Linked DNA regions of Homo sapiens: all the other regions are linked to region 5. Evidence: promoter capture Hi-C in 16 types of primary human blood cells and fetal thymus (Javierre and others, 2016). All regions are on one chromosome and are shown on one strand. The core of a region is centred on a gene start or on the middle of the fragment in contact, and the rest is flanking DNA. Distances in the headings are between cores, read along the strand shown. Region 1 overlaps SUFU (SUFU negative regulator of hedgehog signaling). Region 2 overlaps SUFU (SUFU negative regulator of hedgehog signaling). Region 3 overlaps SUFU (SUFU negative regulator of hedgehog signaling). Region 4 holds the start of CUEDC2 (CUE domain containing 2). Region 5 holds the start of NOLC1 (nucleolar and coiled-body phosphoprotein 1).

Region 1 (2,700 bases), core at 104-2,603, 350 kb after region 5:
AAAACTGAGATATTGGTTGAAACTGTCCAGGACCACATTCATGCAGGCATTGTGTAAGATGATCTTCAATGAGTCTTGAAAGACTGTTCTGCAGCTGCTTGGGGGTGTAGCCAAAGGGTAGACCTGAAGGGGCAAGTGGACATCTTTGCTGGTTACCTCTCCTTTTAGGACTGAGTCTTCCTCCTGGTGAAAACCTGTTGCTTCCCCTGGACATCGGTGTCAGTAGGCTGTGCAGGGCTGAGGCCAGCTGCCCGCATCAATGGGAGGATGCCAAGAGGCCAACAGCGTGGAGAGCCTGGGGACCAGCCACCTGCTGTCTAGGGAGGATTGTAGGGAACAGCCTCCTCTGTCAGAGTAGACGGGAGGAGGTGGAACTGGTGTCGCAGTCCTCTCTCACTGGCGAACTGTTCTCTGGTTGAGAGGAGTTGTTGAAGAGCGCTTCTGAGTGGAAAGCAGCTCTTGCTAGCTTAATGACCCATTCTCATTGTGCCTTTATATTTAACTATGTGTTGTGATGAACTTGTTGTCATGTGTCAGGAGAAAAGTGGGCCTGGGCTGGGCACAGTGGCTCATGCATGTATTCCCACCACTTTGGGAGGCCTTGAGGATCCCTTGAGGCCAGGAGTTCGAGACCAGTGTGGGGAGCGTAGCCAGACCCTAACTCTGTTATTTGAAAAAAAAAAAAAAAAAAAAAAAAAAAGAAGTGGGCCTGGCTCTGCCACGCTGTTTGTTCAGGCCTCATTTGAGTGTGAGGAGAAATCCCTACACAGATTCAGGCAACTATTTTTATGTCACCCAAGTAGCCATAAAGGATAGAATTGTATGTAAAAGGTATGAAAGCATGTGCAAAGGACTAAGGGCAATTTTTTTTTCCTTCCTGCTGCAAGCTTGTTAACAGCCATATCTTCAGAGATGGGCCAACATGTGATAATGAAGAAAAGGGATTATACAGCACTTTGTGAAAGCCCTTCCTAGATGCAGAAAAGTATAAAGAGAAACAGCACAGTGACTGGTACTTTCTTTTTTTTTTGAGACAGAGTTTTGCTCTGTCACCCAGGCTGGAGTGCAGTGGCACGATCTTGGCTTACTGCAACCTCTGTCTCCCGGTTTCAAGCGATTCTCGTGCCTCAGCCTCCCAAGTAGCTGATATTACAGGCACACGCCACCTTGCCCAGCTAATTTTTGTATTTTTAGTAGAGGCAGAGTTTCACCATGTTGGCCAGGCTGGTCTCGAACTCCTGACCTCAAGTGATCAACCCACCTCGGCCTCCCAAAGTGCTAGGATTACAGGCGTGAGCCAGTGCGACCAGCCATCAGTGACTGGTACTTTCTAAGATGTGGAGGGGTTTGCAAAAATAAGATCCTGAAATTCATTTATATTCCTCACATTTGGGATCCCACGAGGTTTCTAGCAGGATGACTGACCCAGGCTGTCTGGGTCTGTCTGTGGCCCAGGGTAGCTTGGGATTCATTTTGCAATAGCAGTGTGGCTCTGTGACTGGTGATCCCTGAGTAGTGGGGACATTCTAACTGAAAGCTGAGACTTTGGTGAGCAAGGATCAAAGCAGAGAGGCAGAACCTGTACTCATGGCCCACTTCAGTCCTGCAACTGCCCTGCAGAGAGAAGTTGGGTGTTCAAGGAATTAAGTTGAGGGATGCCCTGGGACCTTGGATAACATCATTTGCTAAGTGTAAAATGCGATTTTTTTCCACATACTCATCTGGCCTCTGAGTAGTAAGTAAACAGAATACTCTGTGCTTGGGGACAGGGTTAATTTTATCTGACTCTTGGTAGTTCCTTGCAGTTGGAGTTTGAAGGTTAAGCTTCTCTCCTTGATGTGACACCTTGTGGGAGACTTGGTGAGAAAGAGGGCTGCAGGGATGCTGCAGATGGAGCAGAGAATGGTAAACACAGTTTTGCAGCTTGGTGCAGGATGGACCTAGGCTGTAGCGGGGCAGGTTTGGAAATTTGCAGCAGGAAACTGGAGCAGGTATGGGGCCTGTAGTGGCTCTCATCTGCTCTGGAGTTCTGTAGCTCTAATGGGGTCTTTCCAGGGATCTCTACTCTTTTCTTTCTTCCCTTGCCCCACAAACTTTTCTAAATCCAACCTGTTGTAGAATTAGTCAAGTGATTTGTTGAAATCAGTTAAGGCAGACATGGAGAGTTGTCCCTCTTCCTCTGTTGAGATGCTAAGCTATTTGTAGCAACTTTCTTAAAAGTTCTATAAATAACTTAGCATTTCCTAACAGAGAATAGGGATTTCTATCCACAAAGGCAAATAATATCCTGGTGAAAGAGGACGAAACAAGACCAACTGGTTTTAAATAGTGTTTAAATTGCCTGGTGCTGGCACCATTGACTGGGATCACTTGTAACATGTCTTTTATTTGGTTGTTAGCTTTCCACCAGCATGCTATCCCAGTTGCAAAGTGTACTCCATCGATGTCCCAGGGGCAGGTGAAGCTTTTGCAGTCTGTGGAATGGTCAGATGTTTGAGGCAGCTCAAATGCCGTGTTTGTGGGCTAAATGCAGACTTCCTTCCACTGATGGTTTCTATTTGGTCTATTTCTCTAGCTACCAAAATTTCTTATCCATTTTTTTTTTTTTTTTTTTTTTTAGACAAAGTCTCACTCTGTCACCCAGGCTGGAGTGCAGTGGCGCAATCTTGGCTCCCTGCAACCTCTGCCTCTGTTGTCCAG
Region 2 (2,700 bases), core at 1-2,500, 450 kb after region 5:
ATTGCTGGGAGCCCACTGGGCCACTGGGCAACTTAGTGGTGTCGTTGCAGACACAGAGCAGATCCGGGAGACCCTGAGGAGAGGACTCGAGATCAACAGCAAACCTGTCCTTCCACCAATCAACCCTCAGCGGCAGAATGGCCTCGCCCACGACCGGGCCCCGTAAGTTCCCCAGTGTCCCTGGGCTGGAACAAGAGGACGACTTTTTTCTGAAGGGCCTGTCCCTGTGGATTGCATGAGAGAGAACAATGCACATAGCCCTTGCTGGATGGGCCCAGGATCTCTAGGCTTAAGGGCAGGCATGGTCTGGGGCACACAGATCTATCTGTGGGTCATAGGAGAGGGCCTCAGAGGGGACCCAGCAGACCGTGAATATTAACATCAGTAAATATTTACATGAGCCGTGTGAACAGACAGGAGGCCAGGTTGGGGAGAAATCTGACTTGGGGCCTCCCAGCCTTGTGGGAGCCCATTGTGCTGAGCACGGTTCCCTCCTTATCTCAGTCTTGGCCAGAGTTGCCCTTCCTTCCTTCCTGGAGCCTGGTCTCCGGCTGATAGCTGCAACCCTGGGGGCCTCCCTCTCTGGCCAGCCCCATACTGGATGCCTGTGGCTGAGGCCCTTCTTCCTGCCTCTCTTCCCTGGGGCCCAGGGAAGGGAAAGGAAGTCTTTTGCAGGCCTCTGCTGCCTGTCCAGGGGCCCCTGTAGCCCTCCGGAGAGACTGTGGCCACCCTAGAGGTCAGATCCGCTTCCTGCCAACCTCTCTTCCTCTGATAGAGGGGATGAGTGATAGGCAGGGCTGAAGCTGGGCACCCCCCTCTGCCCTTAGTCCCAGGGCAGCTCTAGGGAATAGCTGCTGGCAGGAGATACCTGGGGGCTGGCAGCCCAAAGCAGGAACCTTGCCTGCCAGGGAGGAAATTGCTGTGCCTTGGGCTGAAAGGGAGGTTGATCATCCTGCAAGACCAGGGTGATCTAGCCTTCTTCTATGAAGTCTTTATTACACATTTGCTGTCTGACAAGCTCGGACCTAGGGGGCCATCTGGGGTGCACAGGCTCTTCCTTTGGGAGAACATGAGTGAAACAGTTACCTTTTAATGGTGTGCATCTGGCTGTCGATGTGATTTGTTGGAAATGGCTGCTTCTCTGGATTCTAGCTCTAGTTGCTGATCGTGTTTCCCAGAAGTAGTAATGCTTCAGTGCACTACAGAAAAGACAGGTCCACAGGATCTGGGGTAGTTAGGGAGGGCATCTTGGAGGAGGAAGAACATAGCATCGACCTTGAGGGCACCTTAGAATTTTAATAAGCAGGGGAAGGAACTCAAGAGGATAGCACAGGGGAGGCCTGGCTGGTTAAAGTTGAGGCTGCCTGCTGGGACCTGACTGGAACTAGAGTTACTCTGGGAACAGGGCTGTACTGAGAGTTGAGCTCTTTGGCAAAAGCCTGGAGAAGCCTCCACCGCCACCTCAGAGCAGCTTTTAACTCCGGCCTGTAGGTTTCTCCAGCCAGCTGCCCTGAAGTAGCTGGCTGGAGGCATCCTGATCATCCCCTGGCAGCAGCAGATGGCCACACCAGGTCATACGACATATGGAAGCTCTCTACCTGTGAGTCTGGACCCTGTCCCGGGTCTACACTCCTTCCCATTCCCTGAGCTTGGCTTCTCGCTTTGGGCCTCCTTGGCACTGTTGGCAGGCCAGAGGTACTGGAAGGCCTATAACATGGACACAGTCTCAGTCCAGATGGCTCTCTGCCTCTGGAAGCCTGGGGTTTCTAGGCAGAAGGGCACAAGCTCCTGCAGAGATACAACCTTCTTGCCCCGCTTGTGTATCTGGAACAGGCCTGAGATCTCACTCCCTGGCTTGGGGGCACTTCCAGCTACTGCACCCCTGGACATTGCAATGGGGCACAAGGCTCTGTGCTCCTAGATATACACATAAGCCGAGACTCTCAGCCTACACCCTAACTGGGCAGTCGGGTATTGGTTCTGGCCCAAGGGTTCTCTGTAAACATAAGGCAGAGAGGCTGCAGCTTCTACCCTTTGGCTTGAGTTGGCTGAGATACAGAGAGATGGGTGAGAATAGATTCGAGGTGCCGGGGTTGTCTCCCCTTCCTGAAGGTTTAGTGCCCAGTAAGGTCTCTAAAGCACCAGGACCTGTAGTCTGAGGGGAATAGAATGTTTCCTCTGAGGCTGTCAGTATTGGTTACCAATTTGTTAGCAATTGGTTGAGAAATGGTTTCTCCTCCTCCTTTGCCAAGAACATTCTCCAACACACCCCTCAAGCCTGTCAGACTCAAGTTTCCTGTTATCTCAGGATCGATGATGATGGACTCAGTTCAGATCAGTGAGCGTGACGGTAATATCTGTGCTGCCCACTCTGGGACCTGACCCCATTTCACATACACCACATGGATTGCAACTGAGAAAGCTGACCCAAAATGTGCTGGCACCAGTGTTTGCTCCTCTCCCTGTTGGGGGGCAGCCAGCGTGGGCCATATTTTGTCTGCGGGTCTGATTTCCCCTTAGTCAGGACTTCTGGGCCAGGGAGCTCTTATGCATGGGTCTTCGCGGGTTTGTCTGTGGTCTAAGGAAGATACAGAGCTAAATCAGAGGCTCAGAGCAGCTGATCAAGCCTGGGCAATAGCAGCCGGGTGCCGGCCTACTTGGGGGTGTCAAGCACTTGCTCTTTTCACACTTCAGCAGCAG
Region 3 (2,700 bases), core at 66-2,565, 370 kb after region 5:
TGGGGTTTTTCCGACTGTTGGAAAAATATTCTCACCACTGGAGACGGAGAATTCTCCTGGCCCAGCACCAAGCCCGAGCTTTTAGCTCATTCAAGAGCACTTCTTCAGTTTGGACCCTTATTCCCATAGGAGAGGAGACATTCCAAGGGCATTTTCATAGGAGTCAGAACCCTTCTGTGGGAGGAGGTATGTGATTTTGGAAAAATTGTCTGAACCTTGCTTTATTTTATTTTATTTTATTTTATTTTTTATTTTTGAGACGGAGTCTCTCTCTGTCGCCCAGGCTGGAGTGCGGTAGTGTAATCTCGGCTCACTGCAACCTCCACCTCCTGGGTTCAAGTGATCCTCCTGCCTCAGCCTCCCAAGTAGCTGGGATTACAGGGCACGCTACCACGCCTGGCTAATTTTTGTATTTTTAGTAGAGATGGGGTTTTGCCATGTTGGCCAGGCTGGCCTCAAACTCCCGGCCTTAAGTGATCTGCCCACATCAGCCTCCCAAAGTGCTGAGATTATAAGCATGAGCCACCGTATCTGGCCTGAACCTTGCTTTATGAGGTGAGGGAGTACCTCCATCCCAGCAACTGGCACAGTGCTTAGTATGTGTCAAGCACTTAATTTATTTTCTTTTTTTGTTTGGTTTGAGATGGACCCTTGCTCTGTCGCCCAGGCTGGAGTGTAGTGGTGCGATCTTGCGATCTCAGTTCACTGCAACCTCTGCCTCCTAGGTTCCAGCGATTCTCCTGCCTCAGTCTCCTGAGTAGCTGGGATTACAGGCACGCAGTACCATGCCCAACTAGTTTCTTGTATTTTTAGTAAAGATGGGGTTTTGCCATGTTGGCCAGGCTGGTCTTGAACTCCTGACCTCAGGTGATCCACCTGCCTCGGTGTCCCAAAGTGCTAGGATTACATGCATGAGCCACTGCACCTGGCCTATTTTCATAAATTTTTAGAGCACATTACCTAAATATCCAGTGCTTTCTTAGTGCTGAGGATACCATGGAAAGCAAAGCAGGCAAGGTTTCTGCTCTCATGAATCTTATATTCTTATTGGAGAAACATGAAAAATTTTATATAGTTTTAGATAGTACAAGTGCTGTGTTGAAAATAAAGCAGGGCCCCAGCTACTCAGGAGGCTGAGGTGGGAGGATCACTTGAGCTCAGGAGTTCTGGGCTATTATGCACTATGCCAGTCAGGTGTCCACACTAAGTTCAGCATCAATATGGTGACCTCCCAGGAGCATGGGACCACCAGGTTGCCTAAGGAGGGGTGACCTGGCCCAGTAGGTCAAAACTCCTGTGCTGATCAGTAGTGGGATTGTGCCTGTGAATAGCCACTGCACGCCAGCCTGGGCAACATGGGGAGACCCTGTCTCTTAAAAAAATGAAAGTAAAGCAGGGCGCCAAGTGTGGTGACTCATGCCTCTAATCCCAGCACTTTGGGAGGCCACGGGGGGGTGGATCACTTGAGCCAGGAGTTCGAGAGCAGCCTGGGCAATGTGGTGAAACCCCATCTCTACAAAAAATACAAAAATTAGTCAGGCATGGTGGTGCGTGCCTGTAGTCCCAGCTACTTGGGAGGCTGAGGTGGGAGGATCGCTTGAGCCCAGGAGGCAGAGGCTGCAGTGAGCCAAGATCGTGCCACTGCACTCCAGCCTAGGTGACAGAGTGAGACCCTGTCTTAAAAAAATAAATAAAATTAAAAAAGCAGGGATGGTACTCTGGAGCTTACATGGGTAGAAGTAGTGGTTGAGGTGGGTGGGGAGGATGCTGTTAGCAGTAATCAGTGATGGCTTCCTTGAAGATTTGAACTGAGACCTCAAAGACCGGTGGCAGCCAGGGCTGTCACATTGTACAACTCTAGGGCCACCGTTCACATTATTCTGTGCAATTGCTGCCCCCTGGAGTTGTACAATGCTGGGAGTCCTGATGAAGGTCCTAGGCAGTGAAACAGCTAGTATAAAGGCCCTGAGGGCAGCACGGACCTCGAAGTGTTTAAGGAAAAGAAAGAAGGCCAGTGCATCTGAGGCTTGGTAAGAGAGAACAGTGGAACAAGATGAGGTTGCAGAGTTTGAAGACAATGTAAAGAATGTGACATTCAATAAATTATAATTATTATTATTGTTTTTTTTTTTTTTTTTTTTTGAGATGGAGTCTCGCTCTGTCGCCCAGGCTGGAGTGCAGTGGCAGTGGTGCGATCTCAGCTCACTGCAAGCTCCGCCTTCTGGTGTCATGCCATTCTCCTGCCTCAGCCTCCCAAGTAGCTGGGACCACAGGCACCCACCACCACGCCTGGCTAACTTTTTGTATTTTTAGTAGAGACAGGGTTTCACCGTGTTAGCCAGGATGGTCTCGATCTCCTGACCTTGTGATCCGCCCACCTTGGCCTCCCAGAGTGCTGGGATTACAGGCGTGAGCCACCGCGCCCGGCCGACATTCAATAAATTATTTGTTGACTGATGAGGAAAGAAAAAGGATGATATGATGGAGGCTGGAGTGGGGTTTTAGGAAGCATTCCAGTGTGGGACCTCAGCTTTAGTATGAAGACAGGAGAACTGAGTTGAGTGACGGTTTTATTTCCCCAAAAAGGAAATAGTAGCAAAAGTGGCTCAAAGGAAATACCATTAAGATATATATATATATATGTATATTTATAGTACATCATGACATTCAAAGCCATGAAGATATTTGAATCTACTTTGA
Region 4 (2,700 bases), core at 125-2,624, 280 kb after region 5:
TGCGATCTCAGCTCACTGCAACCTCCACCTCCCTGGTTCAAGCAATTCCCCTGCCTCAGCCTCCTGAGTAGCTGGGATTACAGTCGCATGCCACCATGCCTGGCAAATTTATTTTGTATTTTTTAGTAGAGACGGGGTTTCACCATGTTGGCCAGACTGGTCTCGAACTCCTGACCTCAGGCAATCCACCCGCCTCGGTCTCCCAAAGTGCTGGGATTACAGGCATGAACCACCGCGCCCGGCCGTATTATCCACATTTTACCTGAAAGGAAATGAAGGCACTATGAGGTTAAGTAACTTGCCCAAGGTCACAAGGCAAGTTAATGGCAGATTTACACCCAGGCTGTCTGGATCCAGAACCCTCACTGTTAACCACCACACTACATCACCTCTCACGATGCAAATTGTGTGGCCCCATCCTATATTCTGAATCTCCTCTCCTGCCTGGCTGGCTATATTGTCTATTTCAGAATCTTTGCTCACACCACTCTCCCAGCCCAGAGCATCTGTCCCTCTGCCTCTCCAAATCTCATTCTGCAGGACTCCCTTTCTGCAGCCAACCCTAACTGCCCCACCTTCACTGCTCCCAGCTAGCCTGGGAGCTTCCCAAGGGCAGCACAGGCCTGGACCCTCCAGATGCTAGATAGAGACACTGTGGACAAATTTAAGTGAGAGTGGGGTAAGAAGTACTATGCTGCTCCCTTGGGGTGGGGAGGTGCTTAAAGTGGAGGGAGAGCAGGCCATGTGGGAGGAGGAATCCTGGGAGCTAGTGTGAAAGGAGTCCTAGCGAACTTCTCAGGGAGGCAGCAAGGGGTCTAGCATGGAAGGTCTTCACTGCTTCTCCCAGCCCCTGTGAAGCCCGGTTCCTGAGGCCCTGGACCCATAACGCAGGCCCCAGAGGATATCATTGTCCTCTGATACCCAAGTCAGACCTTAGAGGCACCAAGGGCATTGAGGGGAACAAGGGATCCCTGCATCCAAAGTCAGGCGGGAGCACAAACAGGGAGGGCGAGCACAGGAAGTGGGACCGCGATGATGGACGACCCCTGAAGCAGCAGCTCCCTAAACCCGCTAGCGGGACACCCGTAAGCGTCCAGAATAGTGGGCCCGAAGGCACAGGGATGCGGCTGTGGCCTTGGAGGACACATGACGAGGCAGGCCTGAGCAAACTGGATGTGCCTTGATACAGGCCACGGCGAGAATCAGAGATGGGGGTCCGACGGGCCCCGGGGGGGGTACCGTGGGGGAACACATCGGACGGGTACCCTGGGTCAGCGCTCTCCGCGACTCTCCTAGCCCTGGGCCGGGGGCAGGAGGGGAAATCACCTGCTCCGTCGGGCGCCGCCGGCGACTTGTCCCGCGCGGTGCAGCTCTCATCCCCCAGCCCCACCAACGAGATCAAAGGCGGGGCCCAGAGCGGTTCCCTTCCAGAGGCGCCGTGGCGGCCATGTTTGAGAAGGGCAAGTTGCCCACAACAGGGCGGAGCTCCTGCTCTAATTCTCTAACGTCCCAGGGCTATGGACGGGCTCCCTTGGCGGCCAGTTTTGTTGCGCGTAGGGAGGCGTTAGGCGTGAAGGTCTTGAGAGGGGGTGGAGTCGAAGTGGGTAGGACTGCATCCCCGTCTTGTTCCTTCTCATCCGTCAGAGACCCGAAACCTTTCTCTTTCTTTCTCTCTCTCTTTTTCTCGTCTCTCTCTCTCTCTCTCTCTCACTTTTTTTTCCTTTTCTTCTTCTTTTTTTTTTTTGGGAGGGAGCCTCGCACTGTCTCCCGGGCTGGAGTGCAGTGGCGCGATCTCGGCTCACTGCAACCTCCGCCTCCCGGGTTCAAGAGATTCTCCTGCCTCAGCCTCCCGAGTAGCTGGGATTACAGGCGCGCGCCACCACGCCCAGATAATTTATTGTATTTTTAGTAGAAACGGGGTTTCACCATGTTGGCCAGGCTGGTCTCAAACTCCTGACCTCGTGATTCGCCTGCCTCGGCCTCCCAAAGTGCTGGGATTACAGGCATGAGCCACCGCGCCTGGCCTCTTTTCTTTTCTTCTTTCTTTATTTTCCTTTCTTTCCCTCCCTCCCTTCCTTCCTTCTCTTTCTTTTTCTTCTTTTCTTGCTGTTACAGCCCCAGGCTGGAGTGCAGGTTCACGAGTGCGAACATGGCTCACTGCAGCCCCGACCTCCTGGGTTCAAGTGATCCTCCCATCTCAGCCTCTGGAGTAGCTGGAACCACAGGCGCGTGCCACCACGCCGAGCTAATTTTTTTTTTTTTTTTTTTTTTTGTAGAGACAGGGTTTTTGCCACGTGGCCCAGGCTGGTCTCTTAGGTACTGACTTCCCCACCCTGTCTGTACCTTTTGCATTCCCTTAACAGCAATGTCTCCCCTAGATTGGGGTGAGCTACAGGTCTGTGTCTCCGGAGGGTGGAGCCTGGGATTTTGGACGTGGTCTGGGAGAGGTGGAGTGGTAGCAGGTGCCAGGATGAGGATCCACCTGAGCCCTGTCATGGACAGCCTGTAGACCATGCCTACCCCCCGGGGCCTTCATCCCCCATGTTGGCAGGGCTGCTTGTCTAGGACAGGAGAGCTGAACTCCAGGGCCCAACAAGACTTCAACTTCCTCTTTTTGTTCCTGCTGCCACAGATTCCCGGTGCTGCCCTGTGGGGAAGCCCCACAGCCCTCCCCTCTTGGGAACCCTGAAATGGGTCACA
Region 5 (2,700 bases), core at 126-2,625:
GGTTTCACCATGTTGGCCAGGGCTGTTCTTGAACTCCTGACCTCAGGTGATCCACCCACCTTAGCCTCCCAAAGTGCTGAGATTACAGGCATGAACCACCGTGCCCAGCTTTGTTTTTGATTTTTGAGATAGGATCTCACTCTGTGGCCCAGGCTGGATTGCAGTGGCAGGATCATAGCTCATTGCAGCTTTGACCTCCCTGGCTCAGTTGATCCTCCTGCCCCAGCCTCCCAAGTAGCTGGGACCACAGGTGCATGCCACTACACCTGGCTAATTTTAAAAATTTTTTGTAGAGATAGGGGGGTTTCACTGTGTTGTCCAGGCTGGCCTCTTAACTCCTGGGCTCAAGGGATCCTCCCACCTAGGCCTTCCAAAGTGTTGAGATAACAGTTGTGAGCCACTATGCCTGGCCAATTTTATATAGGAGAGGGGGGTGTGTTCCCATGAGGATCCTTATCTTTCCTGAGCGGCATTAGTGGGAGGTAGCCAAGGGGTAGTGGGTAGGATTGAAGGGATTGCTAACTGCTAATATCTGGAATGTGGCAGAACTTGGAATTAACTTGGTAGGTCTGAGCATTGATACTGGAGTTACTCATGACAAAGGCATTGATACTGGAGTTACTCATGACAAAGGCAGAGTGTGAACTCTGATCCCGGAGGAAGAAGGGTTATTTTCAACAATCTCTTCAGCTTGAATAGATTGTTGCTGTGTGTGATTCAGGTTTGGTGCATGACACCTTTCCTCTTCATGGAGCTGACCTAAGGCGGAATATAAGGGAGATGGGAGGGGCAGCTTGGGAAATCAACACCTCCCACCCTCACGACGGATAACCCGAAGGATCTTCTGCAGCAGAGGCAGGAGTCTGGAGGCTGGGATGGTATCAGAAAGGGCCTCCCTGGGTATTGGAGGCAGTGAAGATGAAGGGCGAGAATCCATTGGCCGTGCCAGTACGCCATGGGGGCGGTTGGGAGATCTTGTAGAACAACTGTTCGAGCCCGCTTGTCCACTCATTACTCTGGAATCCGAGTCCCAGCAGGGGCGCGGGAAACCGCTGCTCTGAGAAAAGGTACCTCCCCCAGAAAGACTGCGCGGGAAGTCCCGAGTTTTCCCGCCACGCCGAGGGCGTGATCCCTGACGTCAGAGCTCCGCCTCCACAAGCTGGCGGCCGGTGGGCTCCGCCCTTAACCAAGATGGCGATACGCGTGGGACCGGAAAGAGTTTATAGATTTCCCGTCTACCCTACCTCTGAGGTGAAGGTGGGACTGCCCTGTGGAGCCCACCCTTTCCGTTATGCGCCCGCGCGGCGCAATGACGTAACACAGGCCCGCCCACTGCCCCTGTTGGGTTCCTGAGTCGTGCTGCGTCGACAACGGTAGTGACGCGTATTGCCTGGAGGATGGCGGACGCCGGCATTCGCCGCGTGGTTCCCAGCGACCTGTATCCCCTCGTGCTCGGCTTCCTGCGCGATAACCAACTCTCAGAGGTGGCCAATAAGTTCGCCAAAGCGACAGGAGCTGTGAGTTCCGGGCTTGGGGCGGGGACCGGGCTGAGATGACCACAAGGCTTCAGGCCCTGACGTGCTTAGGTTTCCAGGTGGGGAAGTCTGGGGGTCCGCCAGTCCAGTGTCTGCAAGGCCTTTACGCCGACCCCTCGGCAGTGACCAGAGAAAGCCTGCGGCCTCGGTCGCTTACCTTCCTCCATGTCTGAGTAGATATCGCTGAGTCTTGTTGCTTTTTTCTTGTGACCTGTGCAGCGGCGGCAGCGTGGGAGCCTCGTGGCCCCAAGCCACATGGCTGGCAGAGTGCAGCGGGGAGGTAGAGTCTTGTTCCACTGAGGACGTTGGTTCTTCGGCATCTTCTGGGGGGCTTTTCGTTGGGTGAGGCAAACCGTGATTTGACCTTAGCCTCAGTCACATTTACTGGGATTCAAAAGCAAGTGAAATTTCTTTAGAATGAAGTCTGGGATTTTCGTTTGTAAAGAAGAAAATGAATGAAAGTAGAAGCAGAGTTTTGTTTTGAGTTACACTGAGAATTGAGAGTCATCAACAGCCCTACCAAGTAGGCATAGTAGTGGGCTTGGAGCTTTGGCTAATTGAATCAAACAAACCTAGGTTTGGGACCAGGCTCTGCCACTTTTTAGATACGTGACCCGGGCAGTTTATTTAACCTTTCTGAGTCTTTCTACAGGGATGTCATCATCCACTTTATAGGATTTTTGTGAGTTTCAGTAAGATGATGTGTAAGAGTAGCAATCTCAGTGCTGGTACAGAGGAATCTTGTAAAAGTGAAAGCTGTACCATAGTTATGGCAATTTAGGATGCTCCAAACACATGTAAGAGTAAGAGAACCAGGAATGTGAAAGGTTTGTAATCTACATCAACGGACATTCCTGCATGGGAAGACACTTTGAGAGAGGAGAGAGGGGGGGTCTTCAGCAGGGATGATAGCATGACTAGGAAGGATGGCTTGCACTTTTAGCAGAATCAGGCTGCGAAAGCAAAGAATCAGATCAGCCTCAAAACTTCCTTAAGCTGGGACAGGCTGCCATGTGATCTAACTGCTTTCTTAATGAAACTGTTTAGAGTTGACTGTTAAGGAGACTGCGGAGAGTGCTTTCACAGTGGACTGGATGGAATTGGACATTTCAGAATTAGGATTCTTTTTTTTTTTTTTTTTTTTTTGAGACGGAGTCTCTGTTGC

Evidence for each region. The method cuts DNA at HindIII sites, captures the fragments that hold promoters and counts their contacts. A CHiCAGO score of 5 or more calls a contact.
Region 1: a contact is called between a fragment that was not itself captured here and the fragment with the promoter of NOLC1 in region 5, in 1 of 17 cell types (activated CD4 T cells). The highest score is 6.4, in activated CD4 T cells.
Region 2: a fragment that was not itself captured here is called in contact with the fragment with the promoter of NOLC1 in region 5 in 4 of 17 cell types (activated CD4 T cells, total CD8 T cells, erythroblasts and 1 more); the score reaches 6.2 in activated CD4 T cells.
Region 3: a fragment that was not itself captured here is called in contact with the fragment with the promoter of NOLC1 in region 5 in 1 of 17 cell types (naive CD8 T cells); the score reaches 5.2 in naive CD8 T cells.
Region 4: the fragment with the promoter of CUEDC2 here is called in contact with the fragment with the promoter of NOLC1 in region 5 in 1 of 17 cell types (endothelial precursors); the score reaches 5.1 in endothelial precursors.

Annotation. Positions count from the first base shown.
Region 1 is chr10:102,505,367-102,508,066 of GRCh38, forward strand. All of the region lies in intron 1 of SUFU (SUFU negative regulator of hedgehog signaling), which reads left to right. Among named protein-coding and RNA genes, the nearest start is that of SUFU, 2.7 kb to the left of the region's middle. RefSeq lists an enhancer at 1-293. The HindIII fragment of the contact is 937 bases long and covers 886-1,822 here.
Region 2 is chr10:102,599,383-102,602,082 of GRCh38, forward strand. It overlaps SUFU (SUFU negative regulator of hedgehog signaling), which reads left to right. Exons shown (of 12, transcript NM_016169.4): 8 at 51-162. Among named protein-coding and RNA genes, the nearest start is that of TRIM8-DT, 42 kb to the right of the region's middle. RefSeq lists an enhancer at 370-1,120. The HindIII fragment of the contact is 3,650 bases long and covers 1-2,700 here.
Region 3 is chr10:102,524,873-102,527,572 of GRCh38, forward strand. The region is part of intron 2 of SUFU (SUFU negative regulator of hedgehog signaling); the gene reads left to right. Among named protein-coding and RNA genes, the nearest start is that of SUFU, 22 kb to the left of the region's middle. The HindIII fragment of the contact is 5,320 bases long and covers 1-2,700 here.
Region 4 is chr10:102,431,200-102,433,899 of GRCh38, forward strand. It overlaps CUEDC2 (CUE domain containing 2), which reads right to left and starts at 1,375. Exons shown (of 9, transcript NM_024040.3): 1 at 1,327-1,375. RefSeq lists enhancers at 1,340-1,469, 1,640-1,809, 1,741-2,376, 2,377-2,700. The HindIII fragment of the contact is 11,516 bases long and covers 1-2,700 here.
Region 5 is chr10:102,151,014-102,153,713 of GRCh38, forward strand. NOLC1 (nucleolar and coiled-body phosphoprotein 1) reads left to right here and starts at 1,376. Exons shown (of 13, transcript NM_004741.5): 1 at 1,376-1,517. The coding sequence starts at 1,398. RefSeq lists enhancers at 862-2,061, 967-1,266, 1,437-1,486. The HindIII fragment of the contact is 8,659 bases long and covers 1-2,700 here.